7 separate regions of the Homo sapiens genome follow, and regions 1, 3, 4, 5, 6 and 7 are each linked to region 2. The links are contacts of gene promoters, found by promoter capture Hi-C in human tissues and cell types (Jung and others, 2019). All regions are on one chromosome and are shown on one strand. The core of a region is centred on a gene start or on the middle of the fragment in contact, and the rest is flanking DNA. Distances in the headings are between cores, read along the strand shown. Region 1 overlaps CLEC17A (C-type lectin domain containing 17A). Region 2 holds the start of CIB3 (calcium and integrin binding family member 3). Region 3 holds the start of OR1I1 (olfactory receptor family 1 subfamily I member 1). Region 4 holds the start of OR7A17 (olfactory receptor family 7 subfamily A member 17). Region 5 has its middle 13 kb from the start of OR7A10. Region 6 has its middle 6.5 kb from the start of ADGRE3. Region 7 has its middle 3.9 kb from the start of SYDE1.

Evidence for each region. The method cuts DNA at HindIII sites, captures the fragments that hold promoters and counts their contacts. A contact is called where the count stands out against the background at its distance.
Region 1: a contact is called between a fragment that was not itself captured here and the fragment with the promoter of CIB3 in region 2, in 1 of the 25 tissues and cell types used here (dorsolateral prefrontal cortex).
Region 3: the fragment with the promoter of OR1I1 here is called in contact with the fragment with the promoter of CIB3 in region 2 in 3 of the 25 tissues and cell types used here (dorsolateral prefrontal cortex, heart right ventricle and mesenchymal stem cells).
Region 4: a contact is called between the fragment with the promoter of OR7A17 here and the fragment with the promoter of CIB3 in region 2, in 1 of the 25 tissues and cell types used here (dorsolateral prefrontal cortex).
Region 5: a fragment that was not itself captured here is called in contact with the fragment with the promoter of CIB3 in region 2 in 1 of the 25 tissues and cell types used here (dorsolateral prefrontal cortex).
Region 6: a fragment that was not itself captured here is called in contact with the fragment with the promoter of CIB3 in region 2 in 1 of the 25 tissues and cell types used here (dorsolateral prefrontal cortex).
Region 7: a contact is called between a fragment that was not itself captured here and the fragment with the promoter of CIB3 in region 2, in 2 of the 25 tissues and cell types used here (dorsolateral prefrontal cortex and lymphoblastoid cells).

Annotation. Positions count from the first base shown.
Region 1 is chr19:14,598,795-14,602,765 of GRCh38, reverse strand. It overlaps CLEC17A (C-type lectin domain containing 17A), which reads right to left. Exons shown (of 14, transcript NM_001204118.2): 11 at 2,954-3,049; 12 at 2,584-2,735. It also overlaps a transcript of ADGRE3 not described here. Among named protein-coding and RNA genes, the nearest start is that of CLEC17A, 18 kb to the right of the region's middle. The HindIII fragment of the contact is 8,373 bases long and covers 1-3,971 here.
Region 2 is chr19:16,171,450-16,175,437 of GRCh38, reverse strand. It overlaps CIB3 (calcium and integrin binding family member 3), which reads left to right and starts at 1,913. Exons shown (of 6, transcript NM_054113.4): 1 at 1,913-2,013; 2 at 2,242-2,276. The coding sequence starts at 1,963. The HindIII fragment of the contact is 31,728 bases long and covers 1-3,988 here.
Region 3 is chr19:15,080,536-15,084,190 of GRCh38, reverse strand. OR1I1 (olfactory receptor family 1 subfamily I member 1) reads right to left here and starts at 1,980. Exons shown (of 2, transcript NM_001004713.2): 1 at 1,915-1,980. The HindIII fragment of the contact is 16,029 bases long and covers 1-3,655 here.
Region 4 is chr19:14,884,795-14,888,694 of GRCh38, reverse strand. OR7A17 (olfactory receptor family 7 subfamily A member 17) reads left to right here and starts at 2,563. Exons shown (of 3, transcript NM_030901.2): 1 at 2,563-2,754. It also overlaps the pseudogene OR7A18P. The HindIII fragment of the contact is 7,391 bases long and covers 740-3,900 here.
Region 5 is chr19:14,860,196-14,863,851 of GRCh38, reverse strand. It overlaps the pseudogene OR7A2P. Among named protein-coding and RNA genes, the nearest start is that of OR7A10, 13 kb to the right of the region's middle. The HindIII fragment of the contact is 3,510 bases long and covers 87-3,596 here.
Region 6 is chr19:14,679,565-14,683,153 of GRCh38, reverse strand. No RefSeq gene overlaps it. Among named protein-coding and RNA genes, the nearest start is that of ADGRE3, 6.5 kb to the right of the region's middle. The HindIII fragment of the contact is 3,768 bases long and covers 1-3,204 here.
Region 7 is chr19:15,101,628-15,105,336 of GRCh38, reverse strand. No RefSeq gene overlaps it. Among named protein-coding and RNA genes, the nearest start is that of SYDE1, 3.9 kb to the left of the region's middle. The HindIII fragment of the contact is 6,045 bases long and covers 1-3,709 here.

The sequences.
Region 1 (3,971 bases), core at 688-3,187, 1.6 Mb after region 2:
AGACTCCATCTCAAAAAAAAAAAACTGTTTAACTACTCATACAAATAATGCTATGAAACAGAGGGATAAAAAACAGAAGGGACACGACATACAGGAAAATAATAAGATGATAGACCTAAATCCAACCCAATCAGTAATTATATTAAATGTAAACGGTCTAAAAATACCAATTAGGCTGGGTACAGTGGCTCATGCCTGTAATCCCAGCACTTTGGGAGGTGAAGGCGGCAGATCACTTGAGGTCAGGAGTTCCAGACCAGCCTGGGCAACATAGCAAAACCTCATCTCTACAAAAAATGTTAAAAATTATCCAGGCATGGTGGCACACACCTGTTGTCCCAGCTACTTGGTGGGGAGCTGAGGTGGGATAATCACTTGAGCCCAGGAGGCCAAGGCTGCCATGAGCTGAGGCTGCGCCACTGCACTCCAGCCTGGGTGACAAAGTGAGACCCTGTCTCCAAAAATACATAAATAAGTAAATGAAAACACCAATTAAAAGCCAGAGATTATCAGATCAGATTTTAAAAATCCAAACCCAACTATATACTGTCTGGGAAAAAAAAAACATTTTAAATATAATGACATAAATAAATTAAAAATAAAATGAATAGAAAACATAGAGCCTAGGCAACATAGCAAGACCCTGTCTCTACAAAAGTAAAAATAATTTGCTGGGCCAGGCGCGGTGGCTCATGCCTGTAATCCCAGCACTTTGGGAGGCCGAGGCAGGCAGATCACCAGGTCAGGAGATCGAGACCATCCTGGCTAACACAGTGAAACCCCGTCTCTACTAAAAATACAAAAAATTAGCTGGGTGTGGTGGCGGGCGCCTGTAGTCCCAGCTACTCGGGAGGCTGAAGTGGGAAAATGGCGTGAACCCGGGAGTCAGAGCTTGCAGTGAGCCGAGATCGCGCCACTGCACTCCAGCCTGGGTGACAGAGCGAGACTCCATCTCAAAAAGTAATAATAATAATAATAATTTGCTGGGTACAGTGGCAAGTGCCTGGTTGTCCTAGCTACTCAGGAGGGTGAGGCGAAAGAATTGCTTGAGCCTAGGACTTTGAGGCTGCAACGAGCTATGATTATACCACTGCACTCCAGCTTGAGTGACAGAGTGAGACCTTGTCCCTGAAAAACAGAAAAAAGGAAACATAAACCATACTATAGTCCTATGTCTATGGTCAAGACCATGGACTTGAAAGCCGGCTACCTAGGCTTAAATCCCACTAGCTGTAAGTGACTCCAGGCAAGTTGCTTACATGTACTGGAACCTTGACTTCCTCACCTGTGAAGTACAGATGATACATATTGTGTACAAATAGTAATACTACCTAAATTGTAGTAGCAAATCATTAAAGCTATTTACCCATATTCCAATCCTCCTTCTGGTTGCACGGAGGTGAGACTTATTTCCCTACCACCTTAAAAGATAGGCGTGTACATGTGACTTTTGTGAGCAAAAGTAAATGGAAACTCTGACAGTCAATGTATGATTTCCCTCGTCTACTTTCACCATTGGACTATGGAGACTGTCTGTTACCGCAGCATAAAGTAACCCCTCCTAGCCCAGCGTGGTGGCTCACACCTATAATCCCCGCACTTTGGGAGGCAGAGGTGGGAGGATCACCTGAAGTCAGGAGTTCGAGAACAGCCTGGCCAACATGGAGAAACCTCATCTCTACTAATAATACAAAAGTTAGCCAGGCGTGGTGGCACATGCCTGCAATCCCAGCTACTCGGGAGACTGAGGCACTAGAATTGCTTGAACCCGGGAGGCAGAGGTTGCAGTGAGCCAAGATTGCACCACTGCACTCCAGCCTGGGTGACAGAGTGAGACTCCATCTCAAAAAAAAAAAAAAAAAAAAAAAAAAAAAGAAGGCCGAGCGTGGTGGCTCACGCCTGTAATCCCAGCACTTTGGGAGGCCGAGGCGGGCAGATCACGAGGTCAGGAGATCAAGACCATCCATCCTGGCTAACACAGTGAAACCCTGTCTCTACTAAAAATACAAAAACAAAATTAGCCGGGCGTGGTGGTGGGCACCTGTAGTCCCAGCTACTCAGGAGGCTGAGGCAGGAGAATGGCGTGAACCCGGGAGGCGGAGCTTACAGTGAGCCAAGATCCAGCCACTGCACTCCAGCCTGGGTGAAAGAGCGAGACTCCATCTCAAAAAAAAAAAAGAAAAGAAAAGAAATAAACTCTTCCGACTGGCATACTAATGTATAGGTTGTCGTGAGGATTGCATGTGTTAATGACTGTAAGATGTAAAGTATTTGGAATGCAACCTGAAACATAAAAAGTGCTACCTAACAGATATTAATTATTGTATTTTCATGTTAGAGATAAAACCGATACTTGAAATGTACAGAGGTTAAATCAACACAACCAGAATTTGAACTCAAAAACAAAGCATGTCTTCTTAACCTCTGCATGATACTACCTTAGGAAGAGCTTGCTGTTAAAGTTTTAGTAACTGAAAAGTAATTCTAATTTCTTGCCATCCAGGGAAGGGAGGGATGTGTGCATCCTGGAAGAGAAGCAGGCTGTCCCTGAAGGTTCTCAAAGGTTCAGTGGGAAGAACTCACGTGCTCAGCAAAGCTATTGATGATGACCAAGTGAGAGTAATTCTCCTGGCAGAACATCCGGGCCTCATCCCATGACTTGGTGCTTGGGGAGAAGTAGTAACACTTGCCCTCAAAGGGCAGCCAGCCTTCAGGACAGGTAATTCGGCGGCAGTCTGGGAACCAGACAGAATGCTGTCAGGATGGCCCCAGAACCTGAGCCATGTACATAGTATGCCATGTACAGTTGTGCAGGCTGTACACTGCTCAACTCCGGTGAGGGGGAGGGGCACCATTCACATAGACTGCACTGAGAATGACTTCAATGGAGTGATGTAATGTGCCAGCTCTGCCATGCCCCCCATCCCTGGGCAATTCCCCAAGTCTCACTTACCTAATAAGCCCCAAAGTTCCACCAGGGACTGGTTGGTGTCAGCTCTTACACGGGCAATGTCATGCTTCAGGCCAGCTAGCCCTGCCATGCCAGTCACTGTCAGAAGGGATGGGCTTGAGGGCTACAGACTGAGAACCCATCCTACCCATCCACCACGGACTGCAGACACATCAGAGAGAGAAGCAAGGGTTGTGTTCCCCACTGTGTCCACATTCCAGTGGGTCACGCTTGCGCTCAAAAACCACATGTACAGTGCTCAGAATCCGAGAATGGCTCAGAGGAGGGATCAATCCCGGGGATGTGGGGAAAAGTAGGGGTGGTGGGCACCCTGAAAGAAGTGGGTTTTAAAGGAAGAAAGTGATTCGATAACTGTGAGGTGAGGAAGAGGCACATTAGGCAGGGACTATCTTAAAAGCAAAGATGCAGGCTGCCCATGGTGGCTCACACCTGTAATCCCAGCACTTTGGGAGGCCGAGGTGGGCGGATCATCTGAGGTCAAGAGTTCAAGACCAGCCTGGCCAACATGGTAAAACCCTGTCTCTACTAAAAATACAAAAATTAGTTGGGCGTGGTGGTACATGCCTGTAATCCCAGCTACTCAGGAGGCTGAGGCAGGAGAATCACTTGAACCCGGAAGGCAGAGGTTGCAGTGAGCCAAGATCACACCACTGTGCTCCAGCCTGGGCAAGAGAGTGAGACTTCATCTCAAAAAAAAAAAAAAAAAAAAAAAAAAGCAAAGATACAGAGGCAAGTATGTTGTGGTGAGGCGGCAAAGCCTATAAGAGTGGAGGGAAAACTCAGAAAAGCTTGAGATCAAAGCAGAATGAGCTCAGATGCCTGGATCCTTTATTTTATTTTTTTTAGACACAGTCCTGCTCTGTCCCACAGGCTGGAGTGCAATCGTGGTTCACTGCAGCTTCAACCTCCTGGGCTCAAGTGATCCTCCCACCTCAGCCTCCTGAGTAGCTGGGACTACAGGTACATGACATCATGACTGGCTATTTTTTTAAAATTTGTT
Region 2 (3,988 bases), core at 664-3,163:
GCTACCTGGGAGGCTGAGGAAGGAGGGTCGCTGCAGTGAGCCATGATTGTATCACTGCTCTCCAGCCTGGGTGACAGAGTGAGACCCTGTCTCAAAAAAAAAAAAAAGTCATCCTTGAGGCATCTTTCAAGCCTGATCAGGGTCACATTTTACAAGATGACTGCACAGATTTGGCAGAGGATGCTTGATGAGGCCGAGGCAGGAAAGCCTGCTGGGAAACATTGCAATAGTCCAGGCCAGGTAGAGAAAACACAGGTGAGACCCAAAGTGAGAAGGGCATGGAGGGCCAGGCTAAGAAATTTAGACTCTCAGATTCTCCACCCAAGAGGATTCTGGGCCTTAATAAAGTTGGTAGCTGCTACATTAGATCTGCCCTTTGGGCCGGGCGAGGTGGCTCACACATGTAATTCCAGCACTTTGGGAGGCCGAGGCGGGTGGATCACCTGAGGTCAGGAGTTCGAGACCAGCCTGGCCAACATAGTGAAACTCTGTCTCTACTAAAAATACAAAACTTAGCCAGGCGTGGTGGTGGGCGCCTGTAATAATCCCAGCTACTCGGGAGGCTGAGGCAGGAGAATGGCCTGAACTCGGGAGGTGGAGCTTGCAGTGAGCCGAGATCACGCCACTGCACCCTAGACTGGGTGACAGAGCGAGACTCCGTCTCAAAAAAAAAAAATACAAAAAAAATTAGCTTGGCATGGTGGACACCTGTGGTCCCAGCTACCTGGGATGCTGAGGCAGGAGAATCACTTGAACCTGGGAGGCAGAGATTGCAGTGAACCGAGATCACACCACTGCACTCCAGCCTGGGCAACAGAGTGAGACTGTCTCAAAAAAATAAAATGTAATAAAATAATAATGTCAATGCACACCCCAGAACTTCATCTAGCTTGTTCACCATTATGTTCCCAATGCAGTGATGCAATCATGGCTCACTGCAGCCTCAAACTCCTGGGCTCAAGCAATCCTCCCACCTCAGCCTCCTGAGTAGCTGGGACCACAGGCATGCACCACCACATCCAGCTAATTTTTGTATTTTTAGTAGAGATAGGGCCTTGCCATGCTGCCCAAGCTGATCTTGAACTCCTGGCCTCAAGTGAATCTCATGCTTTGTCCTCCTAAAGTGCTGGGATTACAGGTATGAGCCACCTCGCCCAGCCAAAACCTTTTTTTTTTTTTTGGAGATGGAGTCTTACTCTGTCACCCAGTCTGGAGTGCAATGGCGGGATCTCGGCTCACTGCAACCTCCACCTCCTGGGTTCAAGCAATTCTCCTGCCTCAGTCTCTGGAGTAGCTGGGATTACAGGCATGTGTCACAATGCCAAGCTAATTTTTGTATTTTTAGTAGAGATGGGGTTTTGCCGTGTTGGCCAGGCTGGTCTTGAACTCCTGACCTCAGGTGATCCGCCTGCCTGGCCCTCCCAAAGTGCTGGGATTACAGGTGTGAGCCACCTTGCCCAGTCAAAACCTTTTTTTTTTTTTTTTAAATCTCAGATCCTGAGAATGACCCTATGAGGTAGGTATAATGTAATTTTCATCTCATGAATGAGGTTCAGAGAAGTCAGGTGACTTGCCCAGGGCCACACAGCTAGTGGGCAGAGAGCTGGGATTTGAGCTGCAGTGTGCCCATAGCCCTTCTGTATACCCTGCCTGTCTCTTGAGTGTGCCCCATAACCCCAGCCTCACCTTGTGGTGGCAGATGTGGCCTCCCCACTGAGGTCTTCTCTGTGACATCCCACAGCCCTTATCCTTACCCATGGACACATTCAGGCTGTTGTCCAGAGAGCCTGGCTGTAATTTGAGTCTCATCAAGCAGGGGGTGATGGCGTAGGTGGGTGGGTGACAGCCAGGGCAGGGAGATTTGCCCAGACACTGGTACACAACAGCCTGGCAACCCGTGTGGCCCCGAGGAAGCTGGGAGCCTTTGGGGTGCATCCCCAAGTCTGGGCTGTGGTTCACACCATGGGCAACAAGCAGACAGTCTTCACACACGAGCAGCTGGAAGCGTATCAGGTAGAGGGGGGCAGGATGGGTCCTCAGTGGGTTTGACAACTTTGGTTCCGTGGTCTGGGAAATGGGAACAGAATGCCTTCATCTGGGTGTACCGTCCGCCTGGGTTCCTGGTTCTGCTCTGTGTGTGGCAGCATCAGGCCATCTGTGTGAGTGTGGGGTGGAGGGAGGAGGCCGTGGGAGGAGGCCCCAGAGGCAGGGTTCGGGTTAAGACAACACCTCTCTCCACAGGACTGCACATTTTTCACAAGGAAGGAGATCATGAGGTCAGTCCAGGGAGGAAGGGAGAGAAGATCTGGAAAAACAACTTTCTATTCATTGCTGGAGGATATTTGCAATTTGGTGTGTGTGTGTGTGTGTGTGTGTGTGTGTGTGTGTGTGTGTGTAAGTAGTCTTTCTTTCTTTCTTTCTCTTTTCTCTCTCTCTCTCCCTCCCTCCCTCCCTTCCTTCCTTCCTTCCTTCTTTTCTTTTTTTTTGAGACAGGGTCTGTCTCTATTGCCTGGGCTGGAGTGCAGTGGTGCAATCATGGCTCATTGCAGGCTCGATCTCCCAAGGTCAGGTGATCCTCCCACCTCAGCCTCTCGAGTAGCTAGGACCACTGGTGCGAGCCACCACATGTACCTCATTTTTGTATTTTTTTATAGAGATGGGGCTCTCACTATGTTGCCCAGGCTGGTCTTAAACCCTTGGGCTCAAGCGATCCCCCTGCCTCAGCCTCCCAAAGTGCTGGGATTACAGGTGTGAGCCACCATGCCCAACTGGTATTTCCAATTTGTTGGGACTCAAATGGGGAAGGGGGGCAGGTGTGGTCAGTGGACAGAGGCAGAGATGGAGAAGCTGACAAGTCACATCTTGTCATACTGTCCCAGTCTCTAGGCTGATGAGCTTGGGCTTTCTCCCAAGGGTGGCAGGGAGCTATGGAGCATGCATGAGCAGGGGAGAGACCATCAGCACGTTAGAAAGATTCTCCTGAGGCTGGGCGCGGTGGCTCATGCCTGTAATCCCAGCACTTTGGGAGGACAAGGTGGGTGGATCACCTGAGGTCAGGAGTTTAAGATCAGCCTGGCCAACATGGTGAAACCCCATCTCTGCTAATAATACAAAAATCAGCTGGGCGAGGTGGTGGGTGCCTGTAATCCCAGCTACTCAAGAGGCTGAGGCAGGAGAATTGCTTGAACCTGGGAGGTGGAGGTTGCAGTGAGCCGAGATCACGCCACTGTGCTCCAGCCTGGGTGACAGAGCTAGACTCTGCCTCAGAAAAACAAAATGAAAGATAAAGATTCTCCTGAGACTGGGACTTGAGGCTGGGAGCCCAGGTGCAAAGTCCAGAGCCCAGTCTGGGTTGTGGGCTTGGCATTAAGATGAGGGTGTGAGGAGGTGGCCCAAGGCTGCTGCAGGTCCCTGGCGTGACCCAGCACGATGGGCACAGATGAGTATCCCACATCATCACTCGGCCTGTGGGGCCATTGCCCAGGGGCCCCGACCCATGAACTTGGAGCTATGAAACCCAAGCTGGCCAGGGTTCAGCTGCAGTGTGATCGGGGCCAAGGCCCCAGTTGTGTAGTAACAGGACATCCATTATTGATGGCCACACCTTTTACTAGTGAGCCCCATTGTTTGGGTGAGGACAGCTTGCAGGGTCACCTCGGCCATCACGATCAAATTACTGATGGGGAAACTGAGGCTCAGACAGGGCGGGGCTGATCCCAGGCTGAAGGGTAAATGCACAGAGCCCCAAGGCCCCAAGGACAGACATTTTGTCTGTCCCAAGCTTCTTGCTTATCAGATAGAATAACCAAGGCACAGAGAGGGAGAGGAGAGGAACATGCTCAGAGCCACACAGAAACCTAAACCCAGGGTATTCCCTGATGGGACCCCGACAGGGAACTGAGTGGTCAGGATGAAAGTTCTAGGTCTCCCCACCCCACCTTCATTGAGTTCCTAGTCATCATATGACCTAGGGACTCATGTCTCTCTC
Region 3 (3,655 bases), core at 731-3,230, 1.1 Mb after region 2:
TGAGCGAGCTGCCAGGGGCACTCAGCTTGCAAGTGCCTGATCTCGCCTTTGAATTTAGACTTATTTTCACTCTCATACTCCACTGCCTCCCTAAGAATGGCCACTCTCACCTCTTTATGAGGCATTTCGAAGCTAAATTCTGTGCTGTCAACACGTGCAAGGGAAAAATATTCAATTACAAGCATTTACACGTGTTTCTTTTCGAGACAGAGTCTCACTCTGTCACCTAGGCTAGAGTACAGTGGCACGATCTCGGCTCACTGCAACATCCGTCTCCTGGGTTCAAGTGATTCTTGTGCCTCAGCCACCCGAATAGCTGGGATTACAGGTGTGCATCACCACGCCCGATTAATTTTTGTATTTTTAGTAGAGACGGGGTTTCGCCTCTACTAAGCCTGTTGGCCAGGCTGGTCTTGAACTCCTGACCCGGTGATCCGCCCACCTTGGCCTCCCAAAGTACTGAGATTACAGGCGTGAGCCCAGTAATCTCATCATTTCAGCGCCCAGCCGATGAAAGGGGTTTTTAGGAAGGTTAGCAGCATAATCTCCTTGGTAACCCCAAGAGGCCTTCAGCAAAGCCCTATGTTAACTTTTTGAGGCTTTTTAGTGTTGGACTTGAGGTTTTTGCAATGCAATGCTTGGTTTTCTCTAGGCTGGATAGAATACTGCGATTCCCTTCCTGGCAACATATTTGTAACAGTCCTCAGTTGTTGACTTGGGTTGCATAGAGCAGCGGTTCTCAACCTTGAGCACGCTTCAGGGTCACCTGGAAGGCTTGTTAAAACACAAAAAGCGGGCCAGGCATGGTGGCTCACACCTGTAATCCCAGCACTTTGGGAGGCTGAAGTGGGAGAATTGCTTGAGGCCAGGAGTTCAAGACCAGCCTGGCAGACAAAGTGAGGCCACCCCACCCCCAATCCCGCCCTGGATCTACAAAAAATAAAACAATCTGCTGGGCATGGTGGCATGCTTCCATAGTCCCAGCTACTCAGAAGGCTGAGGTGGGAGAATCCCTTGAGTCCAGGAGTTAGAGACCAACCTGGGCAACACAGTGAGACCCCCATCTCTACAAAATAAAAAATTAGCTGGACATGGTGGCACACACCTGTTAGTCCCAGCTGCTTGGGGGGCCAAGGTAGGAGGATCTCTTGAGCCCGGGAGTGTGAGACCATCCTGGGCAACATAGGAAGATCCCTGCCTCTACGAAAATAAAATTAGCCAGGCATGGTGGTATATGTCTGTTATCCCAGGTACCCGGGAGGCTGAGGAGGGAGGATCACTTGAGCTTGGGAGGTCGAGGCTGCGATGAGCTATGATAATGCCACTGCACTCCAGACTGGGCAACAGAGCGAGACCCTGTCTCAAAAACAGAAAGAACAAACAAACAAACAAAACAATCCCCCCGCCCCCTCCCCCCCGCTCCCAAACTCATCATACACAAAAAGCTAAGCCCTTTCCCTGAAATGTCTGGTGTAAGAACCAGCACTTCTAGATAGTTTCCAGAGGATGCTGGTGCTTCTAGCCCAGGGACCACACTTGGGGAGCTGCTGCATTGGAGAAACTTGTTTCTCAAGACCTCTCCTATCTGTGCAGGTGTCCTGCAGCTGCAGACCCTCAGTGCTTTTCCTCCACATATCCTGCCACAGAGGGTCTGCCGTCTGCGTGCTTTGTCCACTCAGAGAGTCTAGACTTGGTCTCAGTCTCTTCTCTCTCTCTCGGCCTCTAGGAAGGAGACAGATTCCTCTCCCACAACCCTCCACCCCCACCCTCAGCTCAATCCTTTCCCCATCCCTCACCTGCTCACCAGGATGGCATCACCAAGGGGAGGGTCCCGGGAAGCCTCCTTCTCCACCAACTGCTAGAGGATCCCGAGGTCAGCACTAAACCCCTAGGAAGGGCATGGGGGCTACTCACCTGTGATCGCTGGGGTTAGCCTGATGTCTATGGGAAGGATTCATATGTGTACCCCCCCGCCCCCAGACTCTGCAGGTGAGTGGGGGAGCCAGGGGAACATCAGGGTATTTATAGTCTGGGGACTCTAGGAGACTTCGTCCCCATAGCTCCTTGTTAAGGAAGCGGATGCTAATTATTTTGTTTCTCCTCTGCCACATGTGACCTGTTCTTTTGGAGATGGGTGTGCTTTGGGATCATCGAGTGGGTAAGAAGAGGAAACAGTGACTAGGGATTCACTCTCACTAGGACATCTCCCTACGGTCTCCTTCCAGCTCAGGCTGAGCTTCATGGAAGCTCCCAGGCAGAGAGGTCTGGGGGGTCCCAGACTCCAGTCGGGCACTCAGATGCCTGAATCTGAGAGGTCCTTTCATTCATTGCATTATGGAAGAAACTGGCTCATTAAGGAAAGCTCCGAAGAGTATCAATCAATCAATAAATCGGTATTAAATAAATAAATTTATCAAACACTTTTTTTTGAGATGGAGTGTCACTCTTTCACCCAGCCTGGAGCACAGTGGAGCAATCTCGGCTCACTGCAACCTCCACCTCCTGGGTTCTAGCAATTCTCCCTCCTCAGCCTCTTGAGTAGCTGGAATTACTGGTGCCCACCACCATGCCCAGCTAGTCTTTGTATTTTTAGTAGAGACAGGGTTTCACCATGTTGGAAAGACTGATCTCAAACCTCAAGTGATCTGCTCTCCTCGGTCTCCCAAAGTGCTGGGATTACAGGCCTGAGCCACTGTACCCGGCCTATCAAACACTTCTTGATCACCTGCTTGGCACTGGAGTTGGACACGGTGGCTCATGCCTATAATCCTAGCTACTTGGGAGGCCAAGGTTGGAGAATCCCTTGAGCCTAGAAGTTTGAGACCAGCTTGGGCAAAACAGCAAGACCTTATATCTACAAAAAATTTAAAAAAATTAGCCAGGATTGGTGGCACATGCCCGTGGTCTCAGTTACCCAGGAGGCTGAGGTGGGAGGATCACTTGAGCCCTGGAGGTTGAGGCTGCAGTGAGCTGTGATCGCACCACTGCATTCCAACCTGGACAACGGAGTGAGACCCTGTCTCTTAAAAAAAAAATCCTTCCTATCAGCCACACAGAACGTGTGTAGGATACTTGTTGAAATTCTCCTAGGGGCTTTAGTAAATATTAGAATTACTTTCCCTAATAATATTGGCTGTTGGACTGTTGGCTCTTGGATCGTAACTCTGTGGGGAGGTCAGCTTCAAAGCAAGAACAAGGTAGACCAACTTCGCGTTGGACATATGGGGATATGAGTAGGTGCCAATCCCACTGTCATTATTTTTTTAAAATTAAAATTATTTTCAGAGGCTGGGCATGGTGGTTCACACCTGTAATCCTAGCACTTTGGGAGGCCGAGGCAGGTGGATCAATTTAGCTCAGGAGTTTGAGACCAGCCCGGCCAACATGGTGAAACCCTGTCTCTACTAAAAATACAAAATTAGCTGGACGTGCCTATAGTCCCAACTACTCAGGAGGCTGAGGTGGGAGGATCCCTTGAGCCCGGGAGGTGAAGTTTGCAGCAAGTTGAGATCATGCCACTGCACTCCAGCCTGGGTGACAGAGTGAGACCTTGTCTCAAAAAAAAAAAAAAAATCAATTTGAGCCCAAAGGTTGGGGAAAAACCCACCTAAAAAGTCCATAAGGTGGCCAGACATGGTGGCTCACACCTGTAATC
Region 4 (3,900 bases), core at 1,314-3,813, 1.3 Mb after region 2:
TCTCTCTCTCTCTCTCTCTCTGCCCTGACTGCCAAACAGGGAAGGGCCCTCTGTCCGGTGGACACGTGACTCATGTGACCTTATCAATCACTGGAGATGACTCACACTCCTTACCCTGCCCTTTTTGCCTTGTATCCAATAAAAAACAGTGCAGCCAGGCATTCGGGACCACTACCAGTCTCCGCATCTTGGTGGTAGTGTTCCCCCAGGCCCAGCTGTCTTTTCTTCTCTTTGTCTTGTCTCTTTATTTCTACAATCTATTGTCTCCACACACGAGGAGAAAAACCCACAGACCCTGTAGGGCTGGTCCCTACAGACATGAAAGTCTTTCATACTTCTGTTGAAATTAAATGTGTATAAATTTTATCTACAGTTTTCTCCATGTCTATTTTTGTATTTTTACCACATGCTATACTCTGGCAATGAGGAAGATAAGATTTCTATTAATAGTTGGAGTTTCCAGAAGAGCTGGAGAAATAAATTGACGCAACAAGAATTATCAGAATTACAGATATTCCCAAGATTAAAAGATAGCAGAGCAGGTTATAAGAGTCTAAAAATGAACATACTCATGCATGTATCTTGGTAATAGAATGATTTCTATTCCTTTGGATATTTACCCAGTAGTGGCATTGCTGGATCAAATGGTATTTCTGGTTCTAGATCTTTGAGGAATCACTACACTGTCTTCCACACTGGTTGAACTAATTTGCATTCCCACTAACAGTGTAAAAACATTCTTATTTCTCTGCAACCTTGCCAGCATCTGTTTCTTGACTTTTTAATCATTGCCATTCTGACTGGCATGAGATGGTATCTCATTGTGGTTTTGATTTGCATTTCTATAATGATCAATGATATTGAGCTTTTTTTCATATGTTTGTTGGCCACAGGAATGTCTTCTTTTGAGAAGTGTCTGTTCATGTCAAAGACATAGAATCAACCCAAATGCCCACCAGTGATAGACTGGATAAAGAAAATGTGGTACATATACCCCATGAAATACTATGCAGCCATAAAAAGGAACAAGTTCATGTCTTTTGCAGGAACGTGGATGAAGCTGGAAGCCATTACCCTCAGCAAACTAACGCAGAAACAGAAAATCAAATACCACATGCACTCACTTATAAGTGGGACCTGATCAATGAGAACATATAGACATAAGGAGGGGAACAACACACACTGAGCCCTGTTGGGGGGTGGGGTGGGGGGGAGGGAGAACCTTAGGAAAACTAGCTAATGCCTGTGGGGCTTAATACCTAGGTGATGGATTGATAGGTGCAGCAAACCACCATGGCACACGTTTACCTATGTAGCAAACCTGCACATCCTGCATATGTACCCCAGAACATAAAATAAAATAAAAGGAGTCTAAACATTTTTAATGTGAATTTTTGGAGCCAGGCAGAGGAGGACAGAGAAGATGTCCCTGAGTATAATAAAGCAGACGTGGAAGGACACTCATGCAATCTCCTCCCCGTGTGGACCCCTGGAAGCAGGTGTCCCTTCATGATCACAAATTTCTGTCTCCGAGAAGCAAGGCATGTCCTTTCCCAAGAAACTTTTCCAGAATCACAAACTTTTCCTACTCTTTGCAGGGATGAATGTATTTCTGCAGACTGTGATGGCCTATGACCACTTTGTGGCCATCTGTCACCCCCTGCACTACAGGGTCATCATGAATCCTGGGATCTTTGGACTGTGGGTTCTGGTGTCCTGGAGCATGAGTGCCCTGAATTCCTCACTGCAAAGCAGAATGTGTTGCAGCTGTCCTTCTGCACAAACTTGGAAATCCCCCCATTTTTTTCTGTGAACTTAATCAGTTGATCCTGCTTGCCTGTTCTAACACTTTTTTTTTTTTTTTTAGTGAGATGGAGTTTTGTTCTTATTACCCAGGCTGGAGAGAAATGGCGCCATATTGGCTCACTGCAACCTCCACCTCCCGGGTTCAAGCAATTCTCCTGCCTCAGCCTCCTGCATAGCTGGGATTACAGGCAACTGCCACCACACCCGGCTAATGTTTTTGCACTCCAGCTCAGGTGATACAACAAGACTCCATCTCAAAAAAATATATATATGAAATTCTAATGTTTTGGCAAAAGCAACATGAAGCCAAGAAATGTAGTACCCATGGTTTTATATGAACAGAACACAGTTCATCTCCTTGCAAAGGTAAATTGCCATTTTCTGGATATGTCAAGAGCTGAGTTTCCATCACAAGCCAGTGCTTTGGAGACTCAAGGGACCTAGTCAAGACAGGTTCCTCAGTTTAGACTTTGGAGGAAATTTTCACTGAAGGCTGGGAGAAGGTGCTAGGAGAATGGGACTCTGGAAGCCAAGGAAGTCCACGGGGAAGGAGTAATAAAGCCTGGATACACCTCACTTTTAACATAGTGTCTTGGGAATAGACGATACAGAAAAAAAAAACAACAATGACATTTGTTTCAGTGCAGGGCAACGTCCCCCAGGAAACTGATGTGTTCAGAGTTGGAATAACAGGAGGAAAGGTATCTAATCAGCAGATATACGAAGCCATAAATATCTCCTCTGCTGCAGTCCCTCAGCATATGCAACCTTGGGCTGGAAATGACATGGTGGTTTCATTTGGAGTCCTTAGTCTGGCTCAAGTATAGATGATGCTTCAACTTTTCCTGATGCCTTGTCTTGAGACAGAGATTCCATCTCCACCATCAACCTGCTAGAGAGGAATTTACACTTCTCCATGGAGACCTTCCTTTCAGAAAACTCAGTAGGGTAAGTCCCAGAGCCCAGTGGGTACTGTAGGAAAGGTCAGGAAGAACAAGAGCCGTGAATATTAACCTGAGGTCACCTGAGAGCCAATCATTTCCTCCAGCTTTGTTCCTTTTGCTTAGAAATGTCTTGGCTATACGGGCTATTTTTTGGTTCTATATGAAATTTAAAGTAGTTTTTGTAACTCTGTAAAGAAAGTCAATGTTAGCTTGATGGGGATAGCATTGAATCTATAAATTACTTTGGGCAGTATGGCCATTTTCAAGATATTGATTCTTCCTTTCCATGAGCATGGAATGTTTTTCCATTTGTTTGTGTCCTCTCTTATTTCCTTGAGCTGTGGTTTGTAGTTCTCCTTGAAGAAGTCCTTCACATCCCTTGTAGGTTATATTCCTAGGTATTTTATTCTCTTTGTAGCAATTGTGAATGGGAGTTCACTCATGATTTGGCTCTCTGTCTATTATTGCTGTATAGGAATGCTTGTGATTTTTGCACATTGATTTTGTATCCTGAGATTTTGCTGAAGTTGCTTATCAGCTTAAGGAGATTTTGGGCTGAGACGATGGGGTTTCCTAAATATACAATCATGTCATCTGCAAACAGAGACAATTTGACTTCCTCTCTTTGTATTTGAATACCCTTTACTTCCTTCTCTTGCCTGATTGCCCTGGCCAGAACTTCCAACACTATGTTGAATAGGAGTGGTGAGAGAGGGCACACTTGTCTTGTGCCAGTTTTCAAAGGGAATGCTTCCAGCTTTTGCCTATTCAGTATGATATTGGCTGTGGGTATGTCATAAATAGCTCTGATTATTTTGAGTTATGTTCCATCAATACCTAGTTTACTGAGAGTTTTTAGCATGAAGGGGAGTTGAATTTTATCGGAGGACTTTTCTGCATCTATTGAGATAATCATGTAGTTTTTGTCATTGGTTCTATTTATGTGATGGATTACATTTATTGATTTGCATATGTTGAACCAGCCTGGCATCCCAGGGATGAAGCCGACTTGATGATGCTGGATAAGCTTTTTGATGTGCTGCTGGATTCAGTTTGCCAGTATTTTACTGAGGATTTTCACATTGATGTTCATCAGGGATATTGGCCTGAAATTTTCTCTTTTTTTGTTGTGTCTCTGCCAGGTTTTGGT
Region 5 (3,656 bases), core at 592-3,091, 1.3 Mb after region 2:
ATTTACAGTCTGAGGAATAAAGACATAAAGGGGGCTCTGACACAATTCTTCAGAGGGAAACAATAAAAGAGCCATTTTTCGGCTGGGCACAGTGGCTCAAGCCTGTAATCCCAGCACTTTGGGAGGCAGAGGTGGGCAGATCATGAGGTCAGGAGTTCAAGACCAGCCTGGCCAACATGGTGAAACCCCCATCTCTACTAAAAATACAAAAATTAGCTGGGCGTAGTGGCATGCGCCTGTAGTCCCAGCCACTCAGGAGGTTGAGGCAGGAGAATCGCTTGAACCCATGAGGCAAGGTTGCAGTGAGCTGAGATCATGCCACTGCACTCCAGCCTGGGAGACAGAGTGAGACTCTGTCTCAAAATTTAAAAAAAAAAAAATTTTTTTAAAAGAGCCATTTTTCAAGAAGGGTCTGTGATTCCAGAGCTGTAAGCCCCAGACCCAAACATTGTGATTTATTAGTCAGATTGTGAAAACAGAAGTGGTTCCTTCTGTTAATTTTTTGGGATTTGTATGATCTTAACTGCTTTGTAAAATGTATGCCTTTTCTTTAAAAGCTTTCAGCTCTCAAACAGCCAACAGTTTTTTTGTCCTTTGTCATTTTCCAACTTTTGCAAAGTTATTCCCAGACTAGGGTCAGAAACAAGGTGGAGATTCCTATCCGTCTCATGCAGTAATGAGTTGTGTTAGCCCAAATAATTAAGAATGGCCACTCTAAGGTCATTAATATAATTTTACTGTGGATGCCTAGCTGAGACCACAGGTTTTCATTTTTCCATTTGTTATTTCTTTCTCTGTCACTGCCTTAACTGGTCCTCCTCACAATGTAAATTTTAATATACTAGTGTGTTTTATAGCTACTCCTGGAATTTTATTCTCTTCCTTAGGATCCTGTCTTCTATTCTGCTTGGTGTCTACAGTGCCCTCTATATTCCCTGGTAAAAAGAAGGAGGACAAAAATTGCTTATTTTTTATTTTTTTATTTTATTGATTGGTTGATTGATTTTTGAGACAGAGTCTCGCTCTGTCTCCCAGGCTGGAGTGCAGTGGCGTGATCTTGGCTCACTGCAAGCTCCACCTCCCGGGTTCACGTCATTCTCCTGCCTCAGCCTCCCGAGTAGCTGGGACTACAGGCGCCCGCCACTACGCCCGGCTAATTTTTTGTATTTTTAGTACAGACGAGGTTTCACTGTGTTAGCCAGGATGGTCTCGATCTCCTGACCTCGTGACCCACCCACCTCGGCCTCCCAAAGTGCTGGGATTAAAAATTGCTTATAAAATACATGTTCCAAGTGTAAACTAAACAGAAAGACAAGTGAGCATACATAAATTGACTTCATCTGGCCTTAAGACTCAGCAATTACCTTCAATATGACAGAATAAAACTTTCAGTCACATATGGAATTACTGTGGAACATTTGAAGCATACAAGCTTAGTGTCCATGTGTAATGAAGTTTGTGCATCTGAGAGATTTGGTGTCATAGTCCATATAATTTTATTGTATTAGCTTCCTCATTTTACTTAAAATTTTCCAGTGCTACCTATAAATACGACTCCTTCCATTGTACTAACAAATATCTTCCCCTTTAAAAATTGTGTCATAAACATTAAAGTGCAGATAAGTGAACAATATGTGTGCTTCATTTATCAGCAGTTGCTTTATATATTTTATACTCTGAACTCTCTTCAACTCTCACGATCAAAGGAATACACACACATGAACTTGGATTTCTGCCTATTATTGCCTCTGGGAATAGAAACTTGTGTGAACCAAGGTCACAATTCATTCCTTCAAAAACATATATGTCCTTGCAAGCTTTCCTGGCTGCCTAGAAAAAAAGGAAACAATACTCTCGTTTTAATACAATTATCTGACATAAGCATCAATATCCAGGTAATCATTAATGCTGCCTCAAATATAAGAACCAATGTTAAAAACTAAGAAGCATTAGAATATTTTGAATGTCTTTAGATCTGTTTGCACTGTTTATTGTATCAGTAAGCTACTGCTGCATAATAAGCCATCCCATTAGTCAACGGTTTAATGTCCTGCTTTTTTATCACATAGGAGTTTATGTTGGGAAAGTTTTTCATTGGGATTAGGACATAGGGATTTTGAAGAGGACAAAATATTCCATCCATGCGACTATCCAAATCTAGTTAGTTTTTGAATTTTGAATAGGAAGGACAGTTTGACAGAGGAAGATCAAGAGAAGTGGTGGAAACTCACAAGGCCTCTTACAACTTCTTCATAGACATTGGACTTCTCATGAATGCGCACATTCTTTCAGACAAAGCACATCACATATCTATGCTCCACATCAACCACTGTAGGGATATACATGCCTCCCAATTGAGGTATTAGCAAAGCCCCGAGCCAAAGGTGGAGAAACACAATATTCCCAAAGACAATAGGGGAGTTAATAAATAAGTAAAAATTAAATTTACTGGCATGAGAAACAGACTTGCAAGAATTTCATACTTATGTCCACATTAAATGTTAATGAATGATGTGCTATAAACTTGCAATAAAGTAAGTGTTCTATGAAGAATTAAAGGAGTTCTTATAAGACTTCCTACAAGAATTGAAGGAGTAATTTGATGAACTAAAGACATAGTCAAGAAGAGCTGACATATCCATTGAGCATCTGCTCTGTGCAAGGTAATCTCCAATGAGCTTCAAAATATTGCTTACTTCTCACATAAACTCCATAAGTAGATGGAATTTTTTTTTGAGACAGAGTCTCACTGTGTCACCCAGGCTGGAGTGCAGTGGCACGATCTTGGCTCACTGCAACCTCTGCCTCCTGAGCTCAAGTGATTCTCCTGCCTCAGCCTCCCAGGTAGCTGGGACTACAGGCACGTGCCACCACGCCCAGCTAATTTTTGTATTTTTAATAGAGACTGGGTTTCACCATATTGGCCAGGCTGGTCTTAAACTCCTGACCTTGTGATCCACCCACCTCAGCCTTCCAAAGTGCTGAGATTACAGACGTGAGCCACAGCGCCCAGCCAGTAGATGGAATTTCTAAAGGTTTCATTTTCTTTCATGAGAGAAGCACACAAGAGGCACATGCAATCTTTATTTATGCAAAAGCTGACCTGCCCAGTCCAACACTGACCACCTGAAGTCAAATATGAGGTGTGTGGTAGGATTCTTGCTGGAGAAGATCTCGAAGTACTAATTGACTCTAACACTGGACCATAGCCTTGATCCTCAAAGAGTGAACCACCCAACAGGTCAGGGAGCATCAACATCAACGGGGAAACCATTACACATGTAGAATGTCTGGACCTATCCTAGAGGCCCCATATGAGAATCTACATTTGAACAAGATCCCTAATTGAATCATACACACATTGAAGTTGGACATATTCTGGACAGAATAGCCTTTCAACCTCTCTAGTGTTAACATTTTTACTGCTTAACTTTCTGTAGTGTGGGCTGTCCCGTTAGTTGTAGGATGTTGAGAAACATCTCTGGATTATTTTTCATAATCACTTGAAAAAATATTATTTCATAGGTCAAATTAGGATTACTCAAGAGTTTTTAATTGCAATTATTTCCTTTCTGCTGAGGCTGAGTATACAGCATTTGTTGGTTTGTTAGCCATTTACTTTCTCTATTGCAGATTTTGCAGGTTCTTTGCTTTTA
Region 6 (3,589 bases), core at 71-2,570, 1.5 Mb after region 2:
GCAAATCTTGTGCATTATAAACCCCACCCAAAAATCATGTGCATTATGAAAGCTGCACTCCACTCAAAATTCGGTAAATTCTATTTTTTTTGCGGGGGGGAGGGAGCTTGTGTTGCCCAGGCTGGAGTGCAACAGCGCAATCTTGGTTTACCACAACCTCCGCCTCCCAGGTTCAAGTGATTCTCCTGCCTCAGCCTCCCGAGTAGCTGGGATTACAGATGCCCACCACCAGGCCTGGCTAATTTTTTGTATTTTTATTAGAGACAGGGTTTCGCCATCTTGCCCAAACTGGTCTTGAACTCCTGACCTCATGATCCACCCACCTTGGCTTCCCAAAGTGCTGGGATTACAGGTGTGAGCCACGGAGCCTGGCCAATTCGGTGCATTCTAATCCTCATCCCCCAAACAAATCAAGTGCATCCCAACCCTTACCCCCAACAAATCATGTGCATTACAAACCCTACCCCCAAAAAATCACATGCATCCCAACCTCTATCCCCCCAAAAAAGCATGTGCATATCAGTCTCTATCCCCCCAAAAATCACATGCATCCCAACCTGTATCCCCCAAAACCTCAAGAATCCCAACCTCTAACTCCCCAAAAATCATGTGCATTCCAACCTCTATCCCCCTAAAAAACCATGTGCATCCCAGCCTCTATCCCACACCAAAAATAATTTGCATCTCAATCTCTATCCTCACCAAAATCACAAGCATCCCAACCTCCATCACCCAAGATGAAAAGTTGAGTGTGTGACTAAGTGGATGGATGAGTGCATAAATGGGTTGGTGGATGAAAAGAAGAATAGGTCGGTGAGTGAACGGATGAAAGGTAGATGGCTGGGTGAGTGGATGGATGGATGGATGCATGGATGCATGATGGATGGATGGATTGATGATGGATGGATGGATGGATAAATGGATAGATGCATGGATGGATGCATGGATGGATGCATGGAAGGATGGAAAGGGCTATTCAGGGACATCTATGAGGTGAACCTGTGAGAAACTCTCAGAGATAACTGAGAACACACTTTTAGATTTCCAGCAAGAAAGCCCCTGGAATATTATACCACAATAATTTGGTTACGAAAAGGAATTATAATCTCATTTGTCATCACAGTTGGAAAACATTTGATTTATTCTCAGGTGCCCCACTAAGCAATGTTAGGATGGCAGAGAACTAGCAATGGCCTCTGGCTCTCTCATGGGTTCTTTGAATAAATCCTACATCACAGTACTCCTGATGGTCCAGAGAACAATACCATGCAAAGCTGGGTTCTCAAACTTAAGCATGTATCAGAATTACTTGGAAGGTCTGTTAAAAAACACTCACTGGGCTCTATCTCAACATTTCTGATTCAGCAGGTCTGGATATGGTCCAAGAATCCGCATTATTTATTTATTTATTTATTTGTTTGAGATGAAGTCTCACTGTGTCCCCAGGCTGGAGTGTAGTGGTGTGATCTCAGCTCACTGCAACCTCCACCTCCCAGGTTCAAGCGATTCTCCTGCCTCAGCCTCCTGAGTAGCTGGGATTACAGGTGCCCACCACCACTCCTGCCTAATTTTTGTATTTTTAGTAGAGACAGGGTTTCACCATGTTGGCCAGGACGGTCTCGATCTCTCGACCTTGTGATCTGCCCACCTTGACCTCCCAAAGTGCTGGGACTACCGGCATAAGCCACCACACCAGGCCCAAGAATCTGCATTTCTAACAAATTCCCAGACAATATTGATGCAACTGATCTGGGGACCACATCTTGAGAACTACTGACATAGAGAAACATGGAAATTGAAACATGGGCACCAATGACTGTGCTGAAAGTAATTTAGAAGATTCTGAATATGAAGAAGCTTCAAGAACATCTTAACAAATTTAGTTCCCGCTGCTAGTTTCTTTTGTATGCATGCAACAGAGCCATGCATGATAAATATTCATTTCTAAATAAATCTATTATAGCTCATTCAAGAATAAAATAAAAATTTATAAAGAATAATAAAGCATTGTATCATAGTTTAATGGTTAGGTGTAGTGGTACATAAAATAATGGTGTACCTTTATTTATTTATTTATTTTTGAGGTGGAGTCTCACTCTGTCACCCAGGCTGGAGTACAGTGGCACCATCTTGGCTCACTGCAACCTCAGCCTCCTGAGTTCAAACGATCCTTCTGCCTCAGCCTCCTGAGTAGTTGGGATTACAGGTGCGTGCCACCACGCCTGGCTACTTTTTTGTACTTTTAGTAGAGATGGGGTTTCGCCATGTTGGCCAGGCTGGTCTCAAACTCCTGGCCTCAAGTGATCCGCCCACCTCAGCCTCCCAAAGTGCTGGGATTACAGTCATGAGCCACCGCACCCGGCCAATGGTGTACCTTAAAATTAATAATGCTTTAGATTTGATGAAATAGGATATGAACAGAGAAATGAGAGAAGCTAACTCTATCTTAGAGGCAGGGAAGGGCACAGTGGAGAGTATAAACCAAAAGTAACTGAGACAGGTCTCAATCAATTTAGAAGCTTATTTTGCTAGGGTCAAGAACATGCCTGGAAGAAAGGAACACAGAAAAACATACTATCATCTGTTTGTTTCTCCAAAGATAATTTTGAGGGCTTCAATATTTAAGGGGGAAAAGCAGACTGGAGGGGAAAGAGGGAGAGTTTGGTCACATTACTGAACCAATGTGTTGCCAGAGATAAAAGGAGCAGGTGGGGGACTAGTCAATGATGTATTCACCTTGTGCTCAGTAAATCGGCACTTTATGTAAGATAAAATGAATATACAGTAGCTACCTGTGAAGATATCTGGCCTTTTATCTGTAGCTGTCTGCTTGACTCCGCTTTCAGCTTAATTTTATTCCTGAATTGGAGTCCTGAGACTTTATTTTCCTTTCACAAGAGTTTATCATGGAAGGACATGCAAAAGAATGCCACTTGAAGGACGTGGCCAGGAGTAGAGTGGCAAGAAAGAAAAAGAAAGGGCATTCCAGGTGGGGCACAGTGGGTCACACCTGTAATCCCAGCACTTTGGGAGGCCAAGGCAGGCAGATCACTTGAGACCAGGAGTTTGAGACCAGCCTGACCAACGTGAGGAAATTCCATCTCTACTAAAAATACAAAAATTAGCCAGGCATGGTGGCGGGTACCTATAGTCCCAGTTACTCAGGAGGCTAAGGCAGGAGAATTGCTTGAACCCGGGGAGCGGAGATTGCAGTGAGCCAAGATCATGTCACTGTACTCCAGCCTGGGTGACAGAGTGAGACTTTGTCTCAAAAAAAAAAAAAAATGGGGGGGCATTCCAGGTTGAGAGAATCACATGTACAAAGGCATGAAAGGCTACAAATAGAATGTGGAGTTTAGGGAAACAGAAAATGTATCAGGGAAGGTGGAAAGGCTGAAGCAGAAGGGTAGGAAATGAGGCTGGAGAAGTGGAGTGGGACCAGAGTGGGGTGAGATTTATGCACCTACTAAGTAAGTGCATTTAGCCTGTGAAATATTCACAGGGTTGTGAGGCAGAGGTGTGATGGGCCCAGAATCATCTTTCAGAAAACTGTCCTGACTGCACGGTGGAGGATGGGACAGAAGGACAA
Region 7 (3,709 bases), core at 964-3,463, 1.1 Mb after region 2:
ATTGAGACTTATCTGAGATACCTTTTGGTTTACATGATGCTCACAGATGCTGTGGTTCAGTTTGGACAGGGGAGACTTAGGCTAGAGGGTGACTAAAAAATGGCAGGGTCCTGAGTCATCTGGAGGTGTCTTCACTCAGAGGTCTTGCAACTGACGCCAGCTGTTGCTGGGGCTGTGGACCAGGGTAGCTACACAGGCCTCTCCGTGTGGTTCGGGTTTCCTTCCAGCATGGTGGTCTTGGGGTAGTCAGACTTCTTAGACAGCCACCCAGCCCTCTAAAAGTGAACAAGGAAGAAGTTGCATCTCTTCTGACCCAGCCTTGAGTGTCATGCTGTGTCACTTCTGCCACCAGATTCAAGGAAAGGGGGCACAGATTATACCTCTCTACATGGGAGGCATGTCAAGGTGACATTGTACAAGTGGATGTAGGGTGGGAGATATTGTGGCCATCTGGGAAAATATAACCTGTCTTAGCCCTACATTTCATTCTCCATATATTACCCACAGTGGACTTAAAACTGAAATCAGATTGTGGCACCATCCTGCTGAATAGTGTTCCTATGACTGCTCACCTCACCTAGAATAAAATTCAGATTCCCAGCATGGTCTCACAAGACTTCCAGCCTCATCTCTTTGGCTGTCCCATTCACTCACCATGGCCTCCTTTCTGGTTCTCCTTCATATCAAGCTATTTCTGCCTCAGGTCCTTTGCACACATGGTTCCTTCTGCCTGGGAAGCCCTGGTTCTTCTGAGGCCACCTCTCTCTCATCCTTTAGGTCCAATGGCACCTTCTAGGGAGACCCTTTCTGTCCACCACCTCTGTCTAGTCAGTATCACATTACTCAGTTTCCTTTCTTCTAACACTTGCCACAACTTGAATTTAACAGTCCCAGTGGTTTGTTCTAGTTTATCTGCCTCCTCGTCCAGACTGGGTCTCCACCAAGTGATCAAGTGATGCTTGTCTATGTTGTTCACTGCTGAATATTCAGGTAGGAGATCAGGTGTCAGGTGATGGAGGTCTGTATAGGAGGGGGTGTCCAAGAGGCCTGGACGAGGAGGCTGTGTGTGTTTGGTTTTAATGTGTCTTTGTGTGGTTCTCTGTGTTTATTGTACTTGGAGTTTGTTGAGCTTTGTGGATATGTAGATTCATGTCTTTCATCAATTCTGGGCTTCTGGGAAGTTTTTTGGCCATTATTTCATCAAATATTATTATTATTATTTTTTGAGATGGAGTCTCACTCTGTTGCCCAGGCTGGAGTGCAGAGGCATGGTCTTGGCTCACTGCAACCTCTGCTTTCTGGGTTCAAGTGATTCTCCTGCCTCAACCTCTCAAGTAGGTGGGGTTACAGGTGCCTGTCACCATGCCCAGCTAATTTTTGTATTTTTAGTAGAGATGGGTTTTCGTCATGTTGGCCAGGCCGGTCTCAAATTTCTGACCTTAAGTGATCTGCCCACCTTGGCCTCCCAAAGTGCTGGGATTATAGGCATGAACCACCATACCCAGCCTCATCAAATATTCTTTCTGCTCCTTTCACTTCTCTCCTTCTGGGACTCTCATTATGCATATATTGGTATACTCATTATACAACTGTTGATATACAGTTCTCCTAGGTGCTGTTCACTTTTCTTGGATATGTGTGTTTGGGGGGCATCAGTCTGTAAAAGGGTGGAGTGCACCCTCCTCCCTATGAGATCCCTGCGCAGATGTCTTTGAGGCAGCTATTGACAATGGGGAAAGAAGTCAGGGGTCAAGACAATACCTGTTTACAAGTTGAGGGTAGAGGCTGCAGGACTAAGGTCCCAATGGGGTATTTCAGAGTCTCAGAGGAGCTGGGGTCTGACATGGGAGTGAGAGCAACCCTTAGCCCCACCCATATGACACCCACATACCACATAAATATTTATTATTATTATTTTGTGTAAATCTTTTTGAGTTTTTGTACTTTTCCTGTTGTCTTTATTTGCCTGCATGTAGCCTATTTAATTCACCATTGGCTCTGATTCTTTCTTAGCAATCAGAAATTTCCATAAGTGAGAACAGATTATCTGCAAATTGTATGTAATGAAATGGTTATGAATTCTAAGTTTCATAATGATGTTTGTATGCTTATTCCTGTGGATTTTGCTAGTTGCTGTACAGATTTTAGAGCCTGTATGCGTACATTTTCTTTTCTTTTCTTTTATAGAGACATAGTCTTGCTTTGTTGCCCAGGCTGGAGTGCAGTGGCACGATCTTGGCTTACTGCAACCTGTGACTCCCTGGTTTAAGCGATGCTGCTGCCTCAGCCTCCTGAGTAGCTGGGATTACAGGCACACACCACCACGTGCAGCTAATTTTTATATTTTTAGTAGAGATGGGGTTTCACCATGTTGGCCAGGATGGTCTCGATTTCCTGACCTTGTGATCCATCCACCTTGGCCTCCCAAAGAGCTGAGATTACAGGGGTCAGCCACCGTGCCTGGCCCATTTTCTTTTCTTTTAAAAAAATTTATTTTCATGGCCGGGCACTGTGGCTCATGCCTGTAATCCCAGCACTTTGGGAGGCTGAGGCGGGTGGATCACGAGGTCAGGAGTTCAAGACTAGCCTGGCCAAGATGGTGAAACCCCGTTTCTACTAAAAATATAAAAATTAGCTAGGCATGGTGGCAGGCACCTGTAATCCCAGCTACTCGGGAGGCTGAGGCAGGGGAATCGCTTGAACCCAGAGGGTAGAGGTTGGAGTGAGCCAAGATCGTGCCACTGCACTCCAGCCTGGGTGACTAAGACTCTGTCTCAAATTTTTTAAAAATTATTTTCATGTTATTTTTATTTACTTTATTATTATTATTTTATTTATTTTTCTTGCTCTGTTGCTCAGGCTGTAGTGCAGTGGCACTACCACAACTCACTGCACCCTCAACCTCCTAGGCTCAAGTGATGTTCCTGCCTCAGCCTCCCAAGCAACTGGAACTACAGGCATGTGCCACCATGCCACAGGCTGATTTTTCTATTTTTTTGTGGAGATAGGGTCTCATCATGTTGCCTAGACTGTTCTCAAACTTCTGGGCTCAAGTGATCTTCCCACTTTGGCCCCCCAAGTGGCTGGGATTACAGGTGTGAGCCACCGTGCTTGGCCTTATTATTTTTAGAGACATAATCTCCCTCTGTCACCCAAGCTGGTGTGCATTGGTGTGATCATAGCTCACTGCAGACTTGAACTTCTGGGTTCAAGCAATCCTCTTGCCTCAGCCTCCTGAGTGGCTAGGCCTATAGGCATGCACTGCCATACCCAGCTAGCTTTTAAATTTTTTTTGTAGAGACAGGATCTTGCTATGTTGCCCAGGCTGGTCTCAAACTCCTGACCTCAAGCGATCCTTCTTCCTTGGCCTCTCAAAGTGCTGGGATTACAGGTGTGAGCCACTGCACCTGGCCACGTGTGTGTTTTCTTTCCCCTAAATGTTCTCATTGGCTGCAGGTCTGATGTGCTGTGCTTTTGGTACCTGGTGGATTAACCAGCCCCAGACACATATAGACCAATTAGTTGAAAGACCAAAAGACCATTTCCTGTCAGTTTTGGGCAGAGCTCAGCACCTCTGTGGTAGTCAAGGGGAATTGATGGATAAATACCCCAGCTCCCTCACCCTTGTGTTGGATGATTGAGGTTCATGTTCTACACTGACCCCTAGTGTTCACCCACGGGATTGAGCTCCAGCTGTCCACTGTAGAAA